Regions from separate parts of the Homo sapiens genome. Here region 1 is linked to region 2. Evidence: promoter capture Hi-C in human tissues and cell types (Jung and others, 2019). All regions are on one chromosome and are shown on one strand. The core of a region is centred on a gene start or on the middle of the fragment in contact, and the rest is flanking DNA. Distances in the headings are between cores, read along the strand shown. Region 1 has its middle 81 kb from the start of ACAN. Region 2 holds the start of HAPLN3 (hyaluronan and proteoglycan link protein 3).

Region 1 (7,765 bases), core at 5,106-7,605, 170 kb before region 2:
CGCGTCGGCTTGGGGGCCCTGGGCCCTGTTCCTCAACTGCAGCACGGGGATGATAATATTTTACTTGCTTCTAGCTAAGAAACTAGACATCTTTAGGTACTTTCCACTTTGAAAATCGATGACTTAATAGTTTTCTTAAACAACACCAATAAAAGGTTATTTGTGTGAAAACATAACATTGGCATAACAAGGTGTGCCTGGGGTGGGATGGGGTGGGCAGCAGTTTCCTCCCTGGTGACTTTCAGGCTCGTGGCAAGGATTAACACAGTTCTAAATCAGCCAGTCTTACTTGGGCAGGGGCAGGGAGGGGGTGCTTCCCTGGGGAGGGGTCTCTACGGTTCCACGTCCACTGCGCCTCTCAGGAACGTAAGGGATGGGGCAAATATCCCCAGTGAATGCCCTGGCCTTCTTCCCCTCTCCCTGCTCTATAAGGCACCCCCTGACCCTGACCTCACCCATGGCCAGCTGGCCTGAGAGCCAAGCCTGGTGCCCAGCACAGCGCTCCTCTGCTCTGGGGGCAATTCAGGGCACACTGATGGCTTGTGCCCTCACAAGCGCCCAAAACTGAGGCTCAGGAAGCCCAGTGCAGGCTGAGAGGTCGTGTCCACTCTGTCTCCCACACCATGGAGGAAAGAGACAGCCCCTATCCTCAAGGCTCAGTTGCCCACTGTACCCAGGAGTGCTCTTCTGGTCACAGAGCTTCCCTTCCAGGTGTGCTCAACCCTCCAACCTGCCCTGCATCCCAGCTGGGTCACCTTTTCTCACCTCCCCTTGGGTGCCCAGGGGGCTCAGGTCCTTAGCTGTGAGGTTCCCTGCTCTGTGCTGTGGCCTCTGCCTGAAAGCACTGACATCCCAGCTGTCCTACTCACAGCTGCTGGCCCTGACATGGCCCAAAGAAATCCCAGCGCCTGGCCACTTCCCACCCGCCCTCCAGCAGCCACATCATTTCATGCTGCCCCTCTCCTCTCTCAGTTAATTCTAACGGACCTGGTCTGTTCCACACCACTTACTTGATCTACAGTCAATTCTCTTTCTTTGGGGTGGGTGAGGTGGCTCAAACCTGTAATCCCAGAGATCTGGGAGGCCAAAGCAGGAGGATCACTTGAACCCAGGAGTTGGAGACCAGCCTGGGCAATATGGTTAAACGGCTTCTCTGTAAAAATTTTTCTAAAAAATTATCTGGGCATTGTGGCATGCACCTTAGTCCCAGCTACTGGGGAGGCTGAGGTAGGAGGATCTCTTGAGCCCGGGAGGTCGAAGCTGCAGTGAGCCATGATTGTGCCACTGCACTCTAGCCCTGGTGACAGAGCCAGATCCTGCCTCGAAAAAAAAAAAAAATTCTCCTTATTCATGGTAGTTATGTTCTACAAAGTTGCCTTGAACACTGAATTAGTAAATCCAGAACCCTGTTTCTAGAGGAAATAGAGGGTTAGTTGCATGAAAGCCGCCGGTCACACCATCTTCCTCAACCAACCAATACATAACCTTGTATTATGTATGTTTCTGTTTAAAGACAGTATACTTAATACATGTCATTGACTCATTAACATGGAACTCACAGCCAACAGCGCTATAACTCACGCCTGAACAAAGCCTATCTAACACACGTATTTTCTCCATAAGGCACATCACAGTCTTGAACCCAGGAACACTAGGCTGCATTTCAGCACGACACCTGGAGGCCATGTCAAACAGCAAAACCACCACCGTAAAGCACAAAACTGCAAAATAGCGTGGCACTAAACAGACCGTGAAAAGGACACTTGTTTATAGACAAGCACTGAAAGAAGGCAGAATGTACCCTTGTTCAGCCTCAGTGGGAGCATGTGCATTTGGTGACTCAACTTTTTCACCGCTCTGCACTTACCTGTGAATGACTGTAACAGGGCCACAAGTGCTGATTTGGAGATTACAAATAAATCTCAGCAGGGAGGCAAATTCACAAAGAAGAATTGACCCTAAGTCCCTCATCTTCTCCCTTCCTTCTTTTTTTCCTTCTGGCTCCTCTCCGCTATACCCCATCGTCAGTCCAGCTCATCCTCACATTTGCTCATACAGCAAACACTTACCAAGCAGCAAGTGCATGCCAGGCTCTGTGCTATGGACTTTGTGGGCTCCAAAAAATGCATTGGATGGGGATCCCGTCCTCAAGTAGTCTGTAGCCTAGATCAGGGTCTGCACACTTTAGGGCCAAATAGTAAATAGGTTAGGTTTTGCGGCTACACGGTGTCTGTCACAATTACTTAACTCTGCCTGTCTCCCTACCACGGCTCTTTCTCCCTGGGCTAATCTCTCTCCTCTCCCTGAGTATCATCAGTTCTCATCTAGATCCACTGGAAACCTTCCCCCGCAAATGAAAGAGCAAAGAGCAGGAATCATGACTGTGTTCTCATCACTATATCAGACCTAGCACAGTAGGGACTCTGTAGATTTGTTGGCTGGAACAGTAAGTGCACAGACCAGTGTCCTATATTTATGATTGTACAGGACCCAACTTTTGGCCCCAATATACTCTGAAAACATTTTTTTTTTTTTTGAGACGGAGTTTCATTCTTGTTGCCCAGACTGGAGTGCAACGGCACAACCTCAGCTCACCGCAACCTCTGCCTCCCGGGTTCAAGTGATTCTCTTGCCTCAGCCTCCAAAGTAGCTGGGACTACAGGCACCCACCACCACGCCCGACTAATTTTTTGTATTTTTAGTAGAGACGGGGTTTCACCATGTTGGCCAGGCTGGTCTCAAACTCCTGACCTCAGGTGATCCACCCACCTCAGCCTCCCAAAATACTGGGATTACAGGCATGAGCCATCACGCCTGGCCTGAAAACATTTGAAGCCAACTCTGTGATTATATTTAAAAACAGACACCTCTGGTGCCCTGCCTGGAAACAACCCCTAAGTCACTTCTTTAGGGATGAACACCTGCTGGTCCCCCACCCTGACATTTTCCTCAGGGAAGGGATCCAAAAGGGCATGATGGGTGCACGGTTGAGAAAGTGAAAGGGGCTCCTCCTCCTTTTTTTCCTTCTTATTCCTCTCTTTTCTGTCCCTCACTTTCCCTTCCTCTCCCCAGGGAAAATGGGGTAGCCAGGAGGCTGCTGAGGGTTGTCTCTGGTTCCTGAGAGCAGAGGGGCAAAGGTCCCTGATCTCTGAGTTGTCCATCCCAGCTCTCTCATGCCCATGGCAGATGTCCCAGTGGACACAACATCCCACTGCAGTTGGCTGAGACCCCCCAGGGTTATTTCTCCTGGTCTCAGTGCAGCTGCAGGCAGCTGGATTTAGATCTAGTGGACAGGGAATCCCAGCAGGGTCCCATCACCTACACAAAAGGAAGGGGACACTAGGTAGTGGTCAGATGAGTCAAGAAGAAAGTAAACGTCCAGCACCCACCCTTAAATCCTGCTGCACAGATCTGCCTCTCCAGTTAAAGACAGCCCCAATCTGGAAGCCCATGGCTCTGACCCCCGTGAAGGTGTGTGTGCGTGCATACATGCACGTACGTACATGACCTTATGGTTTACAAGGTGGGAAAGAAATCTGAAGTTGGTTTAGGGTTTCTTCTCTGTGTGTCACTTCTATCTGTAAAGTCCCCACCCAACAGGGAAAGACTGAGGAAATCTGGGACTCCAGGGTTGAGGGGGAACTGTGGGTTTGTGTGAAGATTAATCATCCATCATTCACACTTGCTCATGAATCTTCTACAAGCCCATACAAAAAGGCGCCTCACACTACCCCTCAAGGCTGGGTTCATAAGGGAAGCCCAAATGGGATTGGCCCAACACCATGCTGACAAAGCCAAGAAGAGAGAGAAGATGCAAGCTGCCTCAATGGAACCAGCTCTGAGTGAGGCCCACCACACCTGCACTTGCAGAGGAAACTCCTCTATGAATGCAGCCTCAGGGCTAGAGCAGACAGGGGAGGACCCATGAGGGTGCCATGAGTGGCTCCAGACCATCCCAGAACAGAGGGCCAGGACCACTCAAAACCATGTAATCATTGGGTCTACAGAAACCACGTGCTTGAGAAATGGAAGCCCTGGAGGGGCCCAGAGAGGCAGGTGACATAGACTCAACGCAGCCTGAGGCTAGCAGGCATGGCCATGGGAGCTAGGAAGTGGGCCTCTTCAAGCTCCAAACTTCTCCTCTATACTGAGAGCTAACACTGACACTCCTCACAGGCTTGTTGGGAGAATTAATCAGAAGCCTTAGCACAGTGCTTGGCATGTCGTAAGTCATTGTAAGTCTTCAAAATCTTAGTAGCCATGAGGACAAAGATCATGATGATGATGGAATTCTTTTAGCTCCTAGAAATGTTCCCTTTCTTGCCAGAGTCTTCAAAATCTTAGTAGCCATGAGGACAAAGATCGTGATGATGATGGAATTCTTTTAGCTCCTAGAAATGTTCCCTTTCTTGTCAGCTCCAGGTGTCTTATCTACAAAAATGAGAAGGCTCAGCCCAATAAGTCTTAAAATGGCTTTTAGACCTAATGATTAGGACTCTAGGAGTTTGCACATTCTGGCATTCTACAGAAAGGAACTAATGCCCTGACACAGTCCTGGAAAGGTCCAATTGCCCGCAAGGCTGCTCAGAGCAGAACTGGTAATAACCCAGCAGAGATGTAAACAGGCAGCATTACTCTGCATTCTTAACAGCCTCCAAACTGATGCCGCCTTCTCTCTTGACCTTCACAGCCAGGTGATAGGGCCTGGCACAGGAACAGTGCCTTGAAAATGCCCTACCTAGTCAACATCCTCCCTGCCCCTCCCCGTGGTGACCCACTGTTCTGACTTTTTTTTTTTTTTTTTTTGAGACGGAATCTCTCTGTCGTCAGACTGGAGTGCAGTGGCGCAATCTCGGCTCATTGCAACCTCCGCCTCCCAGTTTCAAGAAATTCTCCTGCCTCAGCCTCCCAAGTAGCTGGGATTACAGGTGCATGTCACCATGCCTGGCTAATTTTTTTTGTATTTTTAGTGGAGACAGGGTTTCACCATATTGGCCAGGCTGGTCTCGAACTCCTGACTTTGTGATCTGCCCTCCTCAGCCTCCCAAAGTGATGGGATTACAGGCATGAGCCACCTGCCTGGCCTGTTCTGACTTTTATCAACACACATTAGTTTTTCCTCATATAAATGGACCAACGAGTATGCATTCTTTTATCTCTGTCAACCTTTCTTCAACATAATGTTTTTGAGATTCTTTCGTATTGTTGTGCATCAATAATCTATTCATTCTTCATTCAAGAATAATTCGTTCTTCTGATTGCTGAGAAGTATTCCATTATGCGGATGTGCCACAATTTGTTTATCCATTCAGGGACATTGGGTTGTTTTCAGTTTGGGGCTATTATGAATAAAGCTGCTATGTTTTTCAACAAACGTTCCATTGCTATTCATGAGGGAAAATTGTCTTGCAATAAATGATACTAGAGCAATTGGATATCTATTTGGAAAAAATTAACTTTTACCCCTAACTTATACTTCATGCAAAAATTAATTCAAAATGGATTATAGGCCTTAAGTTGGGAGGGTAAAACAGTCAGTCTTCCATAAGAAAACATAAAAAAAGTCTTCATGACCTTGGGGAGAGCAAGAATTTATAAACAGGGCATAAACGCATTAATCACTAAAGAAAAAAAAAGAACTTTATTAATGTCCTTTATCCAAAGACATCACTAAGAAAATGAATAGATAAGCCAAAGACTGGGAGATGTTTGTAATACATATATATAACTGACAAAGTAGTCCTGTTAAAAATATTTATTTTTGAAACTCCACAAGTCAATAAAAAGAAATAACAAAAAAATAGGCAAAAGATTTGAATATTAACAAACGCTATCCAAATGTCTATTAAACTTGTAAAAAAAAAAAAATACCCAGTATCGGGCCAGGTGCGGTGGCTCACGCCTGTAATCCCAGCAGTTTGGGAGGCTGAGGTGGGCGGATCATGAGGTCAGGAGATCGAGACCATCTTGGCTAACACGGTGAAACCCTGTCTCTACTAAAAGTACAAAAATTAGTCGGGCATGGTGGCAGGCGCCTGTAGTCCCAACTACTTGTAAGGCTGAGGCAGGAGAATGACATGAACCCAGGAGGCAGAGCTTGCAGTGAGCAGATTGCGCCACTGCACTCCAGCCTGGGGGACAGAGTGAGACTCCGTCTCAGAAAAAAATATATATATATCATTCATCAGTGCAAACTGAAGCCATAATGAGACATTACTACAAACCCACCAGAAAAAGTGAAATCAAAGACTGACAAGGGCTCGGAGCAACTGGAACTCTCATCTATGGTTGGTGGGAGGGTAAATTGGTTCAAGCACTTTGGAAAAATGTTTGGTCGGGTCTACTAAAGGTAAACAGCACTGTATGACCCAGAAATTCCACCTCTGGGTACAGAGCCAACAGAAAGGAGTCCAAATATTCACCAAAGAGACATGCACAAATATGTCTATAGAAGCTTTATTCATAATACTCAGCATACTTTAGTCCAGATAAAATAATAACGTAATCTTCTTCTTTTTTCTTTTTTTTTTTGAGACAGAGTCTCACTCTGTCACCCAGGCTGGAGTCCAGTGGTGCAATCTTGGCTCACTGCAACCACCGCCTCCTGGGTTCAAGGACTCTCCTGCCTCAGCCTCCAAAGTAGCTGGGACCACAGGCACCCATCACCATGCCCAGCTAATTTTTGTATTTTTAGTAGAGACAGGGTTTCACCACGTTGGGCAGGCTGGTCTCGAACTCCTGACCTCAAGTGATCCACCCACCTTGGCCTCCCAAAGTGCTGTGATTGCAGATGTGAGCCACTGCACCCAGCCTGTAATCTTCTAAGAAGAGTTCAGCCATAGATTTGAAAGGAGAAGGGCACCGAAAGGGCCACGCAGAGGGCTACCCGCCTCAGTTCAGGATGGAGACAGATAAAAGTGAAACAAAAGCAGGTGGTCCCTGGAAGGGCACTGCTTATCTGATTAACCTGGAGGTGAAGGTGGGAGGTCCTGGTCCAAGCTACCTAAGTAAGTCTTCTCAAGTTACATTTGAGTGTGAGAGCAATGGTCTACTAACGGTGCTCTGCAATTACCTCTTGCATGTGTAAACAGAGTGGATGTGCCCTGTTGGAAAGGACAAGGGATCTACCAGAGAAGCCAGGGAGAGCAAGGTCTCTGAGGGGAACATCTCCCTATTTAGGGTCCCAAGTGGGCACCTACTATTCAGTGAGACCCTTGCACACTGGCTGTAGCTCGCTGGTCCCAAACCACAGTGGAGCCAATTCTGCTTCCAGAGAACTGGATCTTTAGCTGCCCACTGCTCAACCATGCTGCAGCTCTTCTCCTCCCACAAATACTGCCAGGGAAGGACTGTGCTGATGGGGTTCTGGACAGGCAGCTCCATGTCTACCCACATTGGTCGTGCATGACACTGCATGCCCAATATGAAAGCAGCAAGAACCACATTCAAACACAGAATGGAAGGGCTGTTTGACAAGAAGATAAACAAGCAAGGCCCAGTGCAGGCACTGTGGTTTAGAACCCACAGGGAAGGGACACACATGAAACTTGGTCCTGTGTAGTGACCTGGGTCTTCCACAGGAGATATTTGGACAAACCTCCCACCTCAACACACCACAACTTCACTAAACTTTACCTCCTGGTGATAGGGGAAGAACCAAAAAAAAAAAAAAAAAATCTGTCATTTTTAGTAAGAGGAACTATAGAAAAATACTGTTCGGAAAAAATAGAAATTAATATAATGTGTTCCTGTTTTACAAGTAAAC
Region 2 (7,625 bases), core at 5,099-7,598:
TCCATTAAAGTCTCTTTATTGGAATCATCTGGGCTGAATTCTGCTTCCTGCCAAGACCCTGGCTGCATGGGGGAGAGGAGGTAAGGGGGTCACCAGGGCCAGCGTCTGGATGCCTTGGGTGTCAGGCCCAGAAGCATATCCTGTTTTGTTTTTTTTTAAAGATAGAATCTCACTCTGTTGTCCAAGCTGGAGTGCCGTGGCAAGATCTGAGCTCACTGCAACCTCCGTCTCCTGGGTTCAAGTGATTCTCATGCCTCAGCCTCCCGAGTAGCTGGGATTACAGGCATGCGCCAACATGCCCCATTAATTTTTGTATTTTTTGTAGAGACGGGGTTTCACCATGTTAGCCAGGCTGGTCTCGAACTCCTCGCCTCGAGTGATCCGCCCACCTCGGCCTCCCAAAGTGCTGGGATTACAGGCATGAGCCACCACACCTGGCCAGAAGTCTATCCTTTGTCCTGGAGGCCAGTGATGGCTTTAAGCAGAGAAGTCACAGGATCAGACTCACATCTTAAGACACTTCCCTGCAGGGGCTGAGTGGAAGGTAGACCTGGGGGCAGCAAGACCAGAATGACAGCAGGCAGCTGCAAACATAACTATGATTATCATGTAGCAACGTGGAAGAATGCTTAGGGTGTAAGTTAAAATAGACAAAGCAGAACATACAATTGCCTCTGCTATGATTGCAACCATGTGGTCTTGTGAATGCCTGTGTACAGGACCCAGAAGATGAGGAAACACTTAAAGAGGAAGGGAGGGAGGACAGAAGGGAGAAAGGAAGGAAGGAAAGAAGGAAGGGAGGGAGGGAGGGAGGGAGGGAGGAAGGGGAGGAAGGAAGGAAAGGAAGGAAGGAAGGAAAGGGAAGGAGGGAGGAAAGGAGGCAGGCAGACACACACAGCATTGGCTTGTTAGAGTGATGGGATTGTGGAGGAAACATTCTTGTTTCCAGAACAGTTAGGAGCTCTTGCTGGAGAGAATGGATGTAAAGAAAGTTGAGAGGCCAAATCCACCATTCCCTTAGACACCACAGAAATCCCAAGGCCCAGACCTGCCATCTGTGCTGTGCACTGCAGCCAGGACACTACCAACTCTGAAACCCCACTTCTTGTCCAAGAGGAATTCATTCCCCTGTTGATTCCTGTAAGCCCCCTTGGTGATGGAGAACTGGGAGGCCTAAGCACAATGGGGCAACCTGGTACAGAGTTTGGGAACTGGAAGATCAGAGTTCAAATCCCACCTCTACTATTTATTCACTGCGAGATTCTGGGCAAGTTTCCTCGGTTGCGAAATGGAGATCATAAAACTCACCCTGGTATATTTCTCGCCAATGCATTCTAGTTTTCTCCTAAAGTAACAGAGGTCTAGATGGGTGCACGACCGTTCAGCTGAAGACTGCATTTCCAGCCTCCCTCGCAGCTAGGAGAGCTATGTGACTCAGTTCTCATCAATGGCAGCAAGCAGAAATAACATGCCACATCCAGGTCTGGCAGTTAAAACAATTACAGATGCCTTTCCCTGGTATTCCTTCCCCCAACCTTCTGGAAACCACAGTATCCAGCTTAGAGTCAGAGATGGAAACCACAGATTGAATGGCAGAGCTGCCCATCAGCCCTGGACCTCCTCCACTTGCACTGTCCTATGAGAGAGAAACAGAGTCCTATCATATTTAAGCCACCACTTTTTTGCATCTTTTTTTTTTTGAGACTAAGTCTCACTCTGTCGCCCAGGCTGGAGTGCAATGGTGCAATCTCGGCTCACTGCAACTTCTGCTCCCAGATTCAAGCAATTCTTCCTGCCTCAGCCTCCTGAGTAGCTGAGATTACAGGCACCTGCCACCACACCAGGCTAATTTTTGTAATTTTTTAGTAGAGACGGGGTTTCGCCATGTTGGCCAAGCTAGTCTTGAACTCCTGACCTCAGGTGATCTGCCCACCTCGGCCTCCCAAAGTGCTGGGATTACAGGCGTGAGCCACTGCACCCGGCCTGCATCTCTTTGTCAACACAGCTTAGCCTCACTTGTCCTAACAAATACACACACCACAGCATTACTATGATCAGTATAAAAGTATTAACAGCTGAGCACTTACTCTCTCATTTATTTTATTTTTGTTTTTGTTTTGAGGCCAAGTCTCACTCTGTCGCCCAGGCTGGAGTGCAGTGGTAAGATCTCGGCTCATAGCAACCTCTGCCTCCTGGGTTCAAATGAATCTCCTGCCTCAGCCTCCCAAGTAGCTGGGATTACAGGTGTGTGCCACCACACCCAGCTAATTCTTTGTATTTCTAGTAGAGATGGGGTTTCACCATGTTGCCCAGGCTGGTCTCAAACTCCTGGGCTTAATTGTTCTGCCCGCCTCCGCCTCCCAAAGTGCTGGTATTACAGGCATGAGCCACCACACCTGGTATCTCTCATGTAATCCTTACCACTACCCTGACATGTGAGCCTAGTAGTGTTCCCATTTTGCAGATGGAAAAACCAAGGCACAGAGAGACTAAGTCATATGCCCAAGGTCATCCAGCTAGGAAGTGGCAGAGCTAGGATTCGAACCCACTCCAGCCCCAAAGCCTGGAACCATGCCAAATTCAGGGAGGTGATTGTGTGGCACACACAGCCCAGTGGCCCAGAGCAAACCCTTGTAAGAGTTCGTTTCCTCTGCCTTCCTTCAGGCTCCACACCTGGAACCAGGAGGGAAGTGGGGCCAAGATTTGATGTTGAGCTTGATGTCCTGGGCTCCCCGCTGTCCCTGGGCACCTAGAGTCTCCTTGAGCAGAGGGGCTCCCAGCTGCTGCTTATAATGTTTCCAGCCTCTTACAGCGGCTCATCTAGCACAAATGCTCCCTAGTGAGAAAGGGCTTCCTAAGGGTAAACAAATGCAGGCGTTTCTGCCACTAAGTGACATCAGTAACACCTCTTTGTTGGATGCTAACTCAGCAGTAATGTAACCTCACATTGAGGGGGATGCCAAGAAAATCAAAAGGAATTAGCTGGGCACAGTGGCTTACACCTGTTATCCCAGCACTTTGGAGGCCAAGGAGGGTAGATCACCTGAGGTCAGGAGTTTGAGACCAGCTTGGCCAACATGGTAAAACCCCGTCTCTACTAAAAATATAAAAAATAGATGGGTGTGGTGGTGGGTGCCTGTAATCCCAGCTACTCCAGAGGCTGAGGCAGGAGAATTGCTTGAACCTGGGAGGCAGAGGTTGCAGTGAGCCGAGATCACACCTTTGCACTCCAGCCTGGGCGACAGAGTGAAACTGCATCTCAAAAAAAAAAGAAAAGAAAAACAAAAGGAATTATAAGAAAAGATCAGCCCTGTGCCCAAGAACAAAAGGCCAGGAGGAAGCTGGCCATTTTCCAGGCCTCTCTGAGAGAGGAGCAGCACACAGGCCCAAGGTTTCAAGTTAAACTCATTGAGGTTGGGTCTTGGCTCTGCCACCTGCTAGCTGGGTGACCCTGGGAAAGTCATTTGACCTCTCTGAACAGAAAATTTCCTCTCTCCAGAGAAGACTAAAGGGGAACTCGGGGGCTGAGGACAAGCACAGCCTTGAATGCTAAGGTCAGTGCACAGGACAGAGTCCTGTGTGGGAGTCAGGAGTGGCAATTGCCACTTGGTTGCTGCCTTGCCTCAGGTCCATCTCTGACCATCCCTGACCACTACCACTGAGGGGAGGGATGGGTAGCCTCTGCTCCCCTACCATGGCTATCCAGCCACCAACTCCTCAGGACCACCACAGAGGTGCCACCAGCTGGAAGGCCCAAGACCAAGTCCAGCCCAGTCACCTTGGCAGTGGATAGTTCCCCAAATCTTCTGGAGTCCTGTCTGGGCACTCAGACCTGGGCTCGGTATTGGAGCTGGACACACTGCATCCTGCTGAGTGACTTCGGGCAAGTTCACCTCTCTGTGCCTCCATTTCCTCATCTGTAAAAAAAAGGAACTTAAGGCCGGGTGCAGTGGCTCACACCTGTAATCCTACAGCATTTGGGGAAGCTGAGGGGGTGGATCACCTGAGGTCAGGAGTTCGAGACTGGCCTGGCCAACACAGTGAAACCCCCATCTCTAATGAAAATACAAAATTTAGCTGGGTGTGGTGGCAGATGCCTGTAATCCCAGCTACTGGGGTGGCTAAGGCAGGAGAATTGTTTGAACCCAGGAGGCGGAAGTTGCAGTGAGCCAAGACCACACCACTGCACTCCAGACTGGCCGACAGAGCAAGACTCCAGCTCAAAAAAAAAAAATGGGCTGTGGTGACAATTATAGAAGATGTATGATGTCTGGTCCCTGGCATGCAGCAGGTGCTCAACAAATGAACATGGCAAAGATTTCAGGCTCTAGAAGCAGATTGGCTGCCTGCATTCAGTTCTGGCTCCACCCACTTACTAACCCTCTGTCATTGGACAAGTCGCTGCACCTCTCTGAGCCTCAGTTTCTTCATCTTTAAAATGGGGGTCACAAGCCAGGCACAGTGCCTCATGCCTGTTATCCCTGCACTTTGGGAGGCTGAGGTGGGCAGATCACCTGAGGTCAAGAGTTCAAGACTAGCCTGGCCAACACGGTGAAACCCCATCTCTACTAAAAATACAAAAATTAGCCGAGTGTGGTGATGAGCGCTTGTAGTCCCAGCTACTCGGGAGGCTGAAGCAGAAGAATCGCTTGAACCCAGGAGGCGGAGGTTGCAGTGAGCCGAGATTGAGCCATTGCACTCCAGTCTGGGCAAGAAGAGTGAGACTCCATCTCAAAAAAAAAAAAAAAGTTGGGGTGGGGGGGGCGGTCACGACAATACCAAACAGAAAACACTCTCGTGAAGATTAAGGGAGAGAATAGCTGCAGAGCACTGAAAATACTGCTTGATGCTTGATAAGGAGCAAGCACTGGGAAAATATGACCTGTTACTACTCTGGTGAGCAGTTCACACAGTGAAGTCTTACACCATCTCAGTGGCTCTTTCTCCTCTCTCACTGCCTACGAGACAAAGTGGTCACCACTGCCTCCTCTTCACAGTTGAGGAAACTGAGGCCAAGAGAGTGGAGGTCAGTGAACTACCCAAGGCGTTATCTTTGTCAAATATCTCGAACTTAGAGAAAGTTCAGGTTTCCTGATGACCAGCCCTTTGCTTTTCCCAGGCGCCCCAGCCTAGGGACCCCTCCACCCAAGAACAATAAGCCTGGGCTTGGAGGGAGGGTAGGTGCCACCTCCCTGCCAGGTGCATGTCCGCACTGGGCCTTCCGTGAGTACAAGTCCCCCAGGTACCAGCAGGAGGCAGCATCGCCCGCGAGGTCTGCACGAGCGCTGCTCCCAGCGAGAAATTTGACATCCCTGTCCCTGTTTGCACAAGGCTTGATCTCCGCCTTTGAAACCTGCAGCCCCCAGGAGAATGAAAACCGGAGGTGTTTCCCAATCCGCTGGCCCGGGCGGCGTCGAGGGAGAGAAGCCAGGGCCCCTCTCAATCGCTGCCCCCTACTCCAGGGAGCACAGGCACTCCCGCGGGTCAGCGCTGGACACCAAGGTCCCAACAGGTTTACAGGCTGCCTGTGGCCTGTGGCTGCCAACGAGCTGGTGGCAGGACTGGGTCCAAGTGCCGTGCTGTTTCCATACTGGCTGCGCACAAGCCTACGTTTCTCCCTGAGGGTCGCCATCTCCCACCCAGGGCTCTGCCCTCCACCCTCCCTACCCTTCTGGCCTCGCTGTCCCTGGGGCAAGAACCCCGGTGAGCGAGGTCTGGAACCCATAGGCATCAGTTGCCTTTGCCCCAGGCGCCCAGAGCCGGCCAGCTGCGGTCCAGAGGCGCAGGTCCGCCAGCCGCCTCGCAGGTTGCCCTCAGCCCCTCCCAGGACTCCCGGGGCCCCCGGAGCATCCAACAGATACCCAGGGGCAGGGCCTGGGGCGCCGCGGACGGCACTGGAGGCAGCCGACCCTGGACAGACGACAGGGGAGAGAGCCAAGCGGACCCTGGCAGGAAGGGGGCTGGAGGCGGACGGTGGTCTCGGAGGCCACGGGGTCCGCTCGGGCTCTGCTCCCTCACGGTGGGCACGAGGGTCCGGCGCCCGCATCCCCGCGCCGCTCCCTCCCCACTTGTGCCCCGGGCGCCCCTCGCCCGCGATCACAGCCCATCTCAGCCCGGGCCTCCGCAGTGCCCGGCCCACGCCTCCTGCCCCTTCCCCGGACCCTGCCCGGGAGGTGTGGGGACCCGCAGGGCACCCAAAGCGGTAAGGGAGGAACCCGGCCCGCACACAGCCCCAGAAGCCCAGCGACCCCTAAGCCACGTACCGTCCCCAGGCAGCTCCTCGACGGCTAGAGCTCTCGGGGGCCGCGAGCTGTCCCGGTCCAAGGCAGCAGTCTGATTTCGGGGAAATTAAAAGGGCAGAAAGGAAGCGGCAGCAGAAAAACCCCCGCGCTCCCGCCAGACCAGCCCCTTAAAGGAACACGCGCACCTTTCCCTCCCAAGGGCTGGGCTCGAAGGGAGGAGCTGCTGCAGGCTTGAGCGGTCTCCAGACTCGCTGGGAACCACCGCAAAGAGGGTGTGCAAGAGTTGAGGCCCTCACGTCTTGGGAAAGGAGAGTAGGGGTGGAATAGGAGAGTTTGGGGAGGGGGGATCCCCTTAGAAAGCCTGGTATACCAAAAACAGTGGGAGTAAGCAGGGGAAGCCCCTGTCCAGCATTCTGCTAGGGGCTAAGGCTGCTCCCCACCTTTGATTGTGGAAGGGGTGAGACTTCTGTATTACTTTCTTTTCCAAATAGAAAGCAAGGGGGTGAGGCCAGGTGCAGTGAGTGGCTCATGCTTGTAACCCCAGCACTTTGGGAGGTGGAGGCCGGTGGATCACCTGAGGTCAGGAGTTCAAGACCAGCCTGGGCAACATGGTGAAACCCTGTCCCTACTAAAAATACAAAATTAGCTGGGCGTGGTGGAGCATGCCTGTAATCCCAGCTACTTGGGAGGCTGAGGCAGGAGAATTGCTTGAACCCAGGAGGCGGAGGTTGCAGTGAGCTGAGATCATGCCATTGTGCTCCAGCCTGGGCAACAAGAGCAAAACTCCGTCTCAAAAAAAAAAAAAAAAAAAAAGCAAGGGGTTGCTGATGTCCTCATGCCCCTGAGTTTGGCCATCATGAAACACTGGCCAGATTCCCAACTCACTGTCAGGCACATAGCAGGTGCTATCCCCAGCACATGGGGCTTGAATGAGTGGCCCTGGCTGGGAGGGGAGACACAGGGTGGGATACCTCTGCAGCCTGCAGGGGCAATCAGGCTTCTGAGTGGTCCTCCAACAGGGGTGGGCCTCCCTTCGGAATCCTGCTAATCAGCACAGCCATCCAGGCAGCCGCTCAGGATGCCTCTGTTTGGACAGGGTGTTTTCTTTCCTGTCCAGACCAATGGGGGCCCTGGCCTGGACAGCCCGATGTTTCCTCAGCAGAAAAGACTAAGGAGGTCCTTCAGCTTTGGCTGGGGGAAGGGTCGAAGGGTCACAGGGTCACAGAGCTCAGAGCCTCTTCCTAAACACAGCTCAAGTTGGCCCATGAGTGTGTGTGTGTGTGTGCATGTGTGTGTGTTACACACAGCCAGGGGCACATTGGAGCACAAAGAACTGTGATCAACAGGTAAACTACACCTAAAAGGAACGCCAGGCTTGATGGG

The links. Contacts are between HindIII fragments. The study calls those that stand out against the background at their distance.
Region 1: a fragment that was not itself captured here is called in contact with the fragment with the promoter of HAPLN3 in region 2 in 1 of the 25 tissues and cell types used here (mesendoderm cells).

The regions. Positions count from the first base shown.
Region 1 is chr15:88,718,074-88,725,838 of GRCh38, forward strand. No RefSeq gene overlaps it. Among named protein-coding and RNA genes, the nearest start is that of ACAN, 81 kb to the right of the region's middle. The HindIII fragment of the contact is 6,960 bases long and covers 2,876-7,765 here.
Region 2 is chr15:88,889,196-88,896,820 of GRCh38, forward strand. It overlaps HAPLN3 (hyaluronan and proteoglycan link protein 3), which reads right to left and starts at 6,349. Exons shown (of 5, transcript NM_178232.4): 1 at 6,264-6,349. RefSeq lists an enhancer at 5,575-6,186. The HindIII fragment of the contact is 23,597 bases long and covers 1-7,625 here.